2 separate regions of the Homo sapiens genome follow, and region 1 is linked to region 2. The links are contacts of gene promoters, found by promoter capture Hi-C in blood cells and fetal thymus (Javierre and others, 2016). All regions are on one chromosome and are shown on one strand. The core of a region is centred on a gene start or on the middle of the fragment in contact, and the rest is flanking DNA. Distances in the headings are between cores, read along the strand shown. Region 1 overlaps ATP8A1 (ATPase phospholipid transporting 8A1). Region 2 holds the start of DCAF4L1 (DDB1 and CUL4 associated factor 4 like 1).

Evidence for each region. The method cuts DNA at HindIII sites, captures the fragments that hold promoters and counts their contacts. A CHiCAGO score of 5 or more calls a contact.
Region 1: a fragment that was not itself captured here is called in contact with the fragment with the promoter of DCAF4L1 in region 2 in 1 of 17 cell types (total B cells); the score reaches 5.4 in total B cells.

The regions. Positions count from the first base shown.
Region 1 is chr4:42,469,347-42,474,856 of GRCh38, reverse strand. The region is part of intron 25 of ATP8A1 (ATPase phospholipid transporting 8A1); the gene reads left to right. It also overlaps the pseudogene RPS7P7. Among named protein-coding and RNA genes, the nearest start is that of SHISA3, 75 kb to the right of the region's middle. The HindIII fragment of the contact is 1,267 bases long and covers 3,195-4,461 here.
Region 2 is chr4:41,978,126-41,984,106 of GRCh38, reverse strand. It overlaps DCAF4L1 (DDB1 and CUL4 associated factor 4 like 1), which reads right to left and starts at 2,351. Exons shown (of 1, transcript NM_001029955.4): 1 at 1-2,351. The coding sequence starts at 2,314. The coding sequence ends at 1,124. RefSeq lists enhancers at 1,089-1,861, 1,421-2,620. The HindIII fragment of the contact is 3,961 bases long and covers 1-3,922 here.

The DNA.
Region 1 (5,510 bases), core at 2,579-5,078, 490 kb before region 2:
AAACTTTTGTACTCTATTCTGTGAGGGACCCTTTCCCCTATTGTTTCTAACAGGCATTAATGTCCCTTTGGAGGAACAGCAAAAGCTAGGTCCTGATTAGGTAAATTTGGAGGCAGGGCCCAATCTCAGTTCATTAAATCCCTGTTTTCCCCTAGTGCCTTTACCTGAGCTCTCCTCTTGTTAGAGGCAGCTGCACTCTGATGGAATTCCCCGTGTGAGGTGGCATTCGGGGGTCTGTCAGCACAGCCATATTACTGGCACCTGTCCCTGCCTGGCTCTGTGCCTTCAGGTTGACCAAAAGATCTGGCTTTCCTGTTCCAAGGCATGCGTAGGAATTCTTTCTGCAGTTTTAGCTTTAGGGCACTGAGGATGTACTCCTGGAATTGGAGTGTTTTGTTTTTTAAGCATGTTATTTTGGGTTTGATTTCATAAGCTCCAAACCTAAGCCAAACTCTACAGTTGGAATGAGTGAGGCTCCATCCAGCCCAGTCTCACCCCACTCATGCTGGTCAGCTCAAACAGGGTGCCATGGGCAGGGAACAATGCAGCCAGAAACCTTGCCCATCTGTGTGTTCTTCCATTATCCCTCACATGCCACTCTTTTCCTCCATGCCGCTCAGCTTCTCCCAAGTATTCACCACTTCCTGTCGCCCCAAAGGTTTCTCTTGAATTTGTAGTTGATAATTATGACCCTGAACTTTACTGGCCTCCTTTTTTAACTCCTGACATCTTCAGAGTTGTATTTTAGTTTCTGTCAATAGTCTGTGCGACCAATTGTTCCACCTTCCACTAGGTAGTTTTAAGGTGAGAGAAGGTTCCTTGGAGAAACTTATCCACACAACATAGGAAGGTCATGAGGCAGAGAAGAGCAAGCTGATTTTCTTCCAGCCTAAACAAGCTCTGGGCTGTGCATGATGGCTCACACCTGTAATCCTAGCACTTTGGGAGGCTGAGGTGGAAGGATTGCTTGAGGCCAGGAGTTCGAGACCAGCCTGGGCAGCATAGTGAGACTCCATCTCTACAAAAAAAAAAAAAACACAAAAATTAGCCATGCATGGTGGCGTACATTTTTAGTCCCAGCTACTCGGGAGGCTGAGGTAGGAGGATCACTTGAGCCCAAGAGGTTGAGGCTACAGTGAGCCAAGATTGTGCCACTGCATTCCAGCCTGGGCGACAGAGCAAGACCTCATCTCAAAAAATTAATTTATCAATTTAATTAAATAAATAAAAAAACTTTATCCCTTCCTTACCTCCCCAGAGTCATAGGAAAAGAGATCACAGGGCATGTGTGCTCCAGTCAGACACTGGGAATGGGAAGGGAATGGAGGCCACTCTGAGACCAAGCTCACAACAGGGTAGAGCTGAAAGGGGAAGCACTCTAGGCCTTCTTGAATAGAAGTGCTTCCCAGTTGAGAGCACACCAGTCCCATTGGCAAGGCTCCCTAAATAGAGAGGTGGCATGGCGTTGATCCATGCAGGAAAAATTTCTGTCTCTTCAGAGCAGGTGTACAGAGAGGGACTACTATCATATAGGCTGTCAATATTTAACTCCCGGGACAGTACCTCAATAAAAGTCCTTAAATTAATAACTCTTGGGGGCAGAAGAAAGATCCTGAGATCTGCTTTATTCTCCTTGTGTTCTTCCGCAGAGCTTTAATCACATACTAAAGGATCACTTAATACTTAAGTAAATACTTGAATCAATGACACCTGGAGGCACATTCCCAACTCTACACTCTTTTCCAAGTCCAATTCCAACTTTTCAGTCAGCATGCTTAAATGAGTCTGCCAGAGTATCCCACTACTATCTAAACTTCTGAGTATCTAGAACTTCCCTGATACTTTTCCGCTGTCAATATTCTTCTTGCCTTTTCCATTTACGTTTAGACCCTCATTCTCCCAGTAACCCAAATTTGAAACCTCAGGGTCATTTTTGAAACCACTTTTATTTGGGGCCCTCTGTGTTTTTATTTTCATTTTCATTGTCCTTTTCCTAGATCATATTCAGATATATATAAAACATACTTTGGTCAATCCAAATTAATGTTTTTAGGAACTGCCTCAACCATGCTCTTTTTTTTCTTTTTCTCTCTTTTTTTTTTTTTTTTTGAGACAGTCTCGCACTGTCACCTGAGCTGGAGTGCGATGGCGCGATCTCAGCTCACTGCAACTGCAACCTCCATCTCCCAGGTTCACGCAATTCTCCTGGCTTAGCATCCCGAGTAGCTGGGATTATGGGCGCACATCACCACACTCAGCTAATTTTTTTTTGTATTTTTAGTAGAGACAGGTATGTTGGCCCGACTGGTCTTGAACTCCTGACCTCGTGATCCGCCCACCTCGGCTTCCCAAAGTGCTGGGATTACAGGCGTGAGCCACTGCTCCTGGCCAAATTTCTCTTTCTTGTAACATTTCCATTTATTTGGTTCCACTACCTTTTTTTTTTTTTAACTGTGAATTTACTAGCCATTTTTGTTTACAATGGAAACTCTGGGAATTCAAAATTAACATCCTCGCCTGTGAGCTGCTTATAGACACCAGAAAAAGTTTCAGCCTTGCTTTCCATGTTGTTCTCCTATGCTTTGTCCAAATGAACCTTTATGAGCCGGCTGTCATCCAGTTTCACACAGATTCTCTTGCCCACAATTTCACTTGGGAAGATCAAGTCCTCAAGAATTGTGTCATATACAGCTCCTAGGATGTTTTTGCTTATTTTTTGTATGGCTTTTTCAAGCTGGCTTAGGCAGAATTCTCCTCTGAGCAATAAAGACAGCATGCTTCCCACTGAACTTTTTCTCCAATTCACGTACTAGCCAGAGTTGGATTTTCTGGAAAGATTTCAGTTGAGGAACAGGAACAAAGATTATGATAGCTTTCTGGACACCACCAACTTAGGCTCTTTGGCTGCTGTAATACTCAGCTTCCTGAGCTGAGCCTTGAGGTCCGAGTTTATCTCCAGCTCCAGAAGAGCCTGAAAGATGCCGGACTCTTAACTCGTTTGGCGTCTCGCTGTTGGGCTTCACAGTCTTGGTGCTTGAAATGAACATGGCCTTCTCCTTGCTAAGCGCCAGCCTAGGAAGAGCTTGCTACCATTTTTAATTCTGCCTTGTGCTGAGTACAGTGCTAGGTTCAATATAACTAGATGATATTTTCTGAAGAGAAAATGAACAGCAATATTGTAGATAAACTAAGCTTTCTTGTGTGAACACCATAATAAATATCTATACTAGGCGGAGTTCTCTTTTTAGTGCCTTTCATAGGTCTATTTGCTAATTAGTGCACACATGCACATACATGCATAATCAAATACACACCATCAATAGAAACGGTCCCTATTTAAACTACTTATCTGAATCATTGAAGCAGAAGGCAGTACGTTTACCTATAACCACATAAATTCTACAAAAGAGAGGTTTTATATCTAAAATGCATTGCAGAAAGGAAATCTTTTTTAAATTTGCTTTCCTTTTTTGTCCTATGGAAAGGCTATCTGTATTTTATTTCTGTAGACTCAGTCTCTATATTGTAAGGTCTCCTGAATGCCTATGACTGCACAGTATATCAACAGATGTTGGTTTTGGAGGCTAGGAGAGCTCTCACTCATCAGTCATTTGAATAGCGCACTTCTAGGTAAGAAGTGGTTGAATGTTTCATTATGTACCATATTGCTAAGTATCATTTTTAAGACTTGCTATGTAAGCTGCTGTTTTCATTCCAAGTAACAAGTTGATGGTGAGCTTCTAGAGGAGTTAACAATATTTTGTAGTTTTTGTACATCAGGTTTTTTTTTGCTGTATCTTAATTTTTTCTCAATGTGAAATTTTATAAATGAACCTGCCAAATTTTAGTTCAGAAGGATTCAAGTAAGATCTTCTAGTTTACGTTTTTCTCTCCTTTTGTAATTTCTGTAAATAGTCAACAAAATATGAGTCAGTTGGAAATACACTGATATTCACAGGAGAAATCTTAGGAAGTTTGTTGCAAAGAAAAGCACAGCAGATCCCCTCACTAATGATTCTGACCTCTAAATAGGCACCTGGAGCAGACCTCAAATTTAAAGTTTGAGGAAGTTAAAGAAATTTAGTAAATACTGGGCTTGGTCACTATATAAAACACTTCAGGAGAACTAGAAAATACTATGTTCCTTCATATTCTTCTAAAAAGTTTTCTAGATTTACCTTCTAAAGGCAACTTCATAGTAATTTTTAAGTTTCCAGTATAAGTCTTTGAGATCATATTATATTATCAGTATAATTTTGTGTATATGTAAGAATTTTTTAGGTTATTAATCCCAAAACACAATCCAGTGGATAAATTATTGTATTCCTTTTGGCTACCTATAAAAAATTCCTTAAATTATCCTTTATTATACATCTATTATATATATGTACATATATTCTTCATATTTCATTTAGAAAGGTGATTCATTTAGCTAATCCCATTAAGAGTGCAAAACAAGCTTCATGTAAGATGGACCACCTATATACTTCTTAGCTTAAATGGTAAAAATTTCCAGTGCTCTGATCTAACGTTCACAGGGCAGTGAGAGTTACTGCATAGAAAATAAGAAAAATAATGAATAACATGTGCAGAAACTACAGCCAAAATAATATCTGAAAAGCATATTGCACTCAGTGCACGTCTAGGTTGTATCAGAAAGGACCACCCTCTGTTTGTGGAGCCACAGGGAAGAGAAAGGGACGTTTACAGTACACATTGGATACGTAGTCTTTTTCCATGGAGTCTCTTCTACCAAAGAAGAAAAAGCAACGGTGGAACAGAAGATAACTGTGAATAATTTAAATCCTGGATGCAGACCCACAAATGGTTAAAATAAAACAATCTCAGGGAAGAAAACAGTGCCTTTATGATGTTTCAGAATTATACGTTGAGTCACTATTGGCATTTGTTTAGGTTTTAGATATTCTCAGCCATGGATATGTGATTTTTTTTATAGACATAGGAAGAATTAAGTTGTTGTGTGGTAAGGTAGTTCTAGACTCATGGAAATTGTATGAATCTAGAAGCAAGTGTACTGACAATCAAGAAAGTAAATAAACTCTGAGTAGAGTAATCTTTTAACAGGTGGAGACACAGCAGTAGAAAATAATATATTCTGGAGAATTTTGAGTGTGAAGTTAAAATTTATTATGTGCTATTTCTGTTACCTGAAGTGAACTCTCCTCTCCTTTCAAAGGCCAAGTCAAATTCTAACTTATCAAGGGAGGCCTCTTAAAGCCCATGTTGATTTCTGAAATTATCAAAGAGGGGCAATCATATCAAAGCTTTATGCTACATTCATTTTTAATGTCTTATAATTTTGTTTTGCTATATTGTAACCCCCTTGTAGCAAGGAACCATTTTTTAAATGGATGCTATAAAAATAGTGGATCTTTTTTACTGACTTCAGCTTGACAAACCTGAATCCCTTTCAGCCACATTCCTTCCCTACAGCCTTCTGCCAGGTACTCACAGCACACTATGCTCACACCCAGAGGCTCTTGGGTGTG
Region 2 (5,981 bases), core at 1,102-3,601:
AAAAAAAATCCTTTCTTTCTACAGAGGTACGTACTACTCTACCTTTAATCACCATAGACAAGTTTTTACTGCTTTTGAACTTTAGAATTGAATCATACAGTTTGTACTCATTTCTACCTAATTTCAGTCAACATGTTGAGATTGGTCCATACTGTTTCACATAGCAAGTGTGCCTTATTTTCTATTATTATGCAGTATCCGATTGTATGATTATATCACGAATTTTAGCATTTTCGAAATTCAGATCATTTCCAGGCTTTGGCTATTAAGAAGTAGCAACTAACCTTATTACACGTTTTTTTTCTTCCTTGCTTAGTAGAAAAACAGGCTCTTTAACATTTTTAATAAATCTCTCACAAACTGCTGCTCCTAGATTACAAAAAGTCAAAGCCAATTCCTTGAATCTGAACTTCAAGTCACCATAATAGAAACCGGAGCTGCTGTACCTTACATTCTGAAAGGTACCTCAACAAAAGCACATCAAGGACTGTTTAAAACTTCTAGTATTTAAAAAGATCCATCTTTCCTTCCAATGCCTATGGATGATAACAATAAAAGGAGAACCTTAAGAGATCTGCTATTGAGTTTGAGAAGGCCAAATTTAATGATTCCAAACTCCAGCCTTAAATATTTCTGTAGAGACTCTGAGAAATTACCTCTCCCTTGTCTCCACTCCCACTGGCTTCCTCAAGCGCAGATGCCTGGGACCCTGTATGATTAGTCAAACAGTCTTACCAGTACCATCATTATGCTTCTCTAAAGGGCTACTAGTGAAAGAAGCTGCTTTAATTTATTTTAGTTTTTGCCAATCTTCAGTCCTTAGAAAAGTCTTAATTATTTAAAAAAAAAAAGGGTTGGGGAGGTGGTTAACTGTTCTAAGGCATTCAACAAGAGGAAACAGGTACCTTTTATGAAAAGGACTTTCAAGTTAAGTCCACAGTTTAACTGAAATAACTTTACAAGAACGTCTCCACATAAAACTCTTAACACCTTACCCCTGGCAGCCGGATGGATGCGATCTATATACAACACGTCTCTTAAAATGCTCTCACAGAAACGGTAATAAGATACTCTTAACTTCCTTAAGTCAAATCCACATTCGGCCGCGCTGCCACCTGCAGAATTAGCTGAAGGGGAAACAATAAAGGTCCTGCCGGACAGCCATGAGCAGCCCTGGTGCTGCTCCCCGGATGCCCCCGAGCCGAGAAGCGAAGGCCACGCTGGGAATGTCGTCCTCGGAGGCAGAGTACGGGGAAGGGATGGTTCTGAGCAGGTGGGCATCATGGAGGCTCCAGATTCTCGTGTAGCAGTCCTGGCCCACTGCCACCACGATTCCCTCTTCCTCGTGCACATGCAGGGGCAGATAGGCGGACTCATTCACGTGACCTTCGTACTGCCTTACACATTTAGTGGCCCTCAGATCCCACAGCTTGATCTTTCCAGTCATGTCTGATGCCATCAGGCATTGCTCTTCTTGGAGGATTTGCACAGAGGTCACTGCTGAGTCATGGAACAGGCGAGTGGCCCTCCACCCCTTGCCTCGATTTCTACAACGCAGATCAATGGCAAAGATCTCCCCGGAGCGACAGCCATTAAACAGCAAAGGAGCCGTACTAGCAAACTGCTGGGCCAAGACATCACTGCTGGTATCAAATGACTGCTGGTGTCCCGTCGCCACGCTGGTCAACAGGACCTGCTGAGACAAGCCTGCACTAAAGCAGTGATATGCCCGGGTGTTGAGGGACCACGCACAGGACCAGGCCTCTGGGATCTGGAAACTGCAGAGCATGCCAGGCTGGTTAACTCTTGTGTGAACACTTAAGAACCGCGACGCTGGGAGCAGCACTGCACAGCTTGGAGCATCTGTGATTCCCTCGAAGCACAGCAGAACGTGAGAGTCCAACTGGTTCAGCGAGGCCCAGCACAGGGACTTCACCTTCCGGTTGGGGACGTAGAGGTTTCTGAGCACGTACACGTGGAACGAAGGGATCTTCAGAGTTCGCAGGCTGATGATGCCGTACTTGGAGCCTTCGACTTCGACCTGGTTCACTACGAAGAGCTGGTCGCTGTTGGTACTCGCCAGAATGAAGTTAAATCGGTCGCTCGCCAAAGAGGAGGGATCCAAGCTCCGAATTTGGACCTTTTTCCGCTCCATGCAGCTCACACGCAGCTCGTTGGCTAAACGGGAGTAACTGGTGACGTTGAGGAAACCTAGCTGGCTTTTTCGGAGCATGGAAGATGCATTAAATCCCATTCTGGCTACCTTTTTCAGCTTGGCCTCTTCCTCGAGGAGTCGCAGCCTTTCAGCCTCCATTTCCTCCTGCGGAATGTTCCTCGTGACAGGAAATTCTGCAGGATGTTCTTCTCCGTGACAGGATGTTCTTTTCCGTGACAGGAAGTTCCGTCCGGGTGCAAGCGGAAGTGTTGCTACTTTTTATCCTCTCTATTCTAGGAGGAAGTCCATTGTTACAGATGTGTATTACAAATCTCTTTTCCTACTCTGTGGGTTGTCGTATTCTCTCAGTGGTGTCTTGATGAAAGGAAGTTCTTGATGTTAAATTTTTTCCTTTCTCTTTTTGAGACAGGGTCTTGCTCTTTCACCCAGGCTGGAGTCCAGTGGCACGACCACGGCTCACTGCAGCCTGGAACTCCTGGGCTCAAGTGATTCTCCTACCTCTGCCCTACTTAGCTGGGACTATGGGCTCACAACACCATGCCAGGCTACTTTTTTTGTAAAGATGGGGTCTCCCTGCTTTGCCGATGCTAGTCTGGAACTCTTGAGCTCAAGCAGCCTGTCCGCCTCAGCCTCCCAAAGTGCTGGGATTACAAGCATGAGCCCACGCGCCCTGCCTGTATTTCTTATTTTTTTATTTTTTATTTTAAGACGGAGTCTCGCTCTGTCGGCCAGGCTGGAGTACAGTGGCGCGATCTCGGTTCACTGCAAGCTCTGCCTCCCACGTTCACGCCATTCTCCTGCCTCAGCCTCCCAAGTGGCTGGGACTACAGGCGCCCGCCACCACGCCTGGCTAATTTTTTTTGTATTTTTAGTAGAGACAGGGTTTCACCGTGTTAGCCAGATGGTCTCGATCTGCTGACCTCATGATCGGCCCGCCTCAGCCTCCTAAAGTTCCGGGATTACAAGCGTGAGCCACTGCGCCCGGCCGCCTGTATTTTTAAAATACAGTTAGAGACCAGCCTGGGCGGCATGGTGAAACTTTGTCTCTAAAAAAATACAAAGATTAGGCCGGGCGCAGTGGCTCACGCCTGTAATCCCAGCACTTTGGGAGGCGCAGGCAGGCGGATCACGAGGTCAAGAGATTGAGACCATCCCGGCTAACACGGTGAAACCCCGTCTCTACCAACAATTAAAAAAATTAGCCGGGCATCGTGGCGGGCGCCTGTAGACCCAGCTACTCTGGAGGCTGAGGCAAGAGAATGGCGTGAACCCGGGAGGCGGAGCTTGCAGTGAGCCGAGATCGCGCCACTGCATTCTAGCCTGGGCAACAGAGCAAGACTCTGTCTCAAAAAATAAATAAATAAATAAAATACAAAAATTAGCGGGGTATGGTGCACACCTGTAGACCCAGCTACTCAGGAGACTGGGAGGGAAAATCACTTGAGCCTAGGAGTCTTGGAGGGAAAATCACCTGAGCCCTGAAAGTTGAGGCTGCAGTGATCACCCCACTGCACTCCAGCCCAGCTGGGAGACAGAATAAGACCCTGTCTCAAAAAGAAAGAAAAATAAGTAAATAAATTATGAATTTATCCAAATTGTCCATTTGTTTCATTAATGGTTAGTGTCTTTCATGTTCTGTTCAGGACATTAGTACCTATTACATGATACTAGTAAAGTTTTGGGGTGTCTTCAAGAGGAGGCTGATATCTCCAGTCCCCATCTGGATGTTTCCTTTGCCACAAAGCTTGCTGACTCCCCTTACGCTATGAATTTCCAGGAATTTTGGAGGACTGGGGAGAGTTGGTAGGGACTACAGAGAAATCCGGTGATATCTGGACTATGGATCCTGTCGGAATCTACAGGCCCCAGAGCTGGGATCACAGAGAGCACAGGAGATTGAGGCCCACACACTTGCCATGGAACATAACATGGGACAAGGGATTTCTATGTATCAGAAGAATGTGTTTCACCACTGCCAAATGGAAGTCAGCTGACAGATGCAGAAGTCTTGCAAAGGGCTATCAAAGCATAGAGGACTGCTTGATACTGAGTTATCAGTGGGGCTGTTAGGAACCCCATATATTCTAACAATGACCTACAGAAAGCAGATAGCAACATGGCGGCAGTCAGACATTTAAGGCATTGCCTGTTTTCCTTCTTAAACCTCCTGACCCCACCATCGGAAGAGCAGGCACATGGAAAAAAAGGGGTGTGTATAAAGAAAGTTGGAACTACGGGTCTAGTCTGCTCTGGAAGGCATGGAGGAAGTTTTTGAAATAAATATGAGACTAATATTTTAAATCAGTAGGACCTAATCTTAATACCTAGAATGAAAGTTTTAATAACTAAGGAGGCTGATACTTTGAAGCAATGAAATCTGACAAAATACCAAGTGTAGAAATGATGAGACTTTCAAGCTTATGCCTCTTGAGGTGAGATTCTCAATCAAACTGATTACACATCTTTGTCTACCCTAGTATACTGTGGACATCTTTAGACAGGGATTGTTTCTTATCCATCTTTCTATCCTTACTGTCTAGTGTATAATATAGTACATGGGACATAGGATATAGATAAGTGAATGAAGGAATGAAAATTATAAGAACTACATGTTTAATTCTCCTTTATTTCATAGGCTCCTTCACTGAGAGGAATAAGGGATTAAGGTTATTTCTGCAAAATCTATCCAACTTCTACTCTACAGGGAGAGCTTTCAATCTATTTCCACTTCTTTTTTTCAATTTTTAATTCCCGTGGATATATAGTAGGTGTATATATTTATGGGGTACACGAGATGTTTTGATACAGGCATGTAATGTGAAATAAGCACATCAGGGTAAATGGGGTATCCATTCCCTTAACCATTTATCCTTTGAGTTACAAACAATCCAATTACACTCTTTAAGTTATTTTAAAACATACAATTAAGTTACTATTGACCATGATCACCCCGTTGTGCTATCAAATAGTAGGTCCTATTCGTTTTTTGTGTTTTGTGTTTTTTTTTGTGTGTGTGTGTGTCTTGCTCTGTTGCTCAGGCTGGAGTGCAGTCGTGCGATCTCGGCTCATTGTAACCTCTGCTTCCTGGGTTCAAGTGATTCTCCTGCCTCAGCCTCCCGAGTAGCTGGGACTACAGGCTCCCGCTACCATGCCAGGCTAATTTTTGTATTTTTAATAGAGATGGGGTTTCACCATATTGGACACACTGGTCTCGAACTCCTGACCTTGTGATCCGCCTGCCTCGGCCTCCCAAAGTGCTGGGATTACAGGCATGAGCCACCACGCCTGGCCAGTCCTATTCATTATTTAACTTTTTTTTTTTTTTAACTCATTTACCATCCCCACCTCCCCCTTCTTTTCTGATTAACTAACTTTCCTTCCCTCTCAATAAACATATAAATCAACCTTCTAGAAAAAATAAGTCTCCTTAAATGCTACATGACTTTTTATCTACTGTCTTAAAAAATTATTTCAGCCTTTAGGATTCTTTCCTTCTCTTTTAGGAATTTACATACTCCATTCCCACCATGCCACTCCATTTCCTTCATCCACCATCTCTTCCCATTTCTCCATAGAAGAAATTGGAAACGTTCCCCATAACTCTCACAACTCTGCCCCTCAGGTCTTACCCCAGCTCAAGGTCCCATACTCACCCTGCCCAACCACATCGTGTGACCTTTGCAGCAGTGGTTCTCATCCTGGGACAACTGTTGGCAATATCTGGAGACATTTTTAGCTGTCACAACTGGATACTACTGGCATCGAGTGGGTTGAGGCTGGAGATGCTGCTAAACATCCTACAACA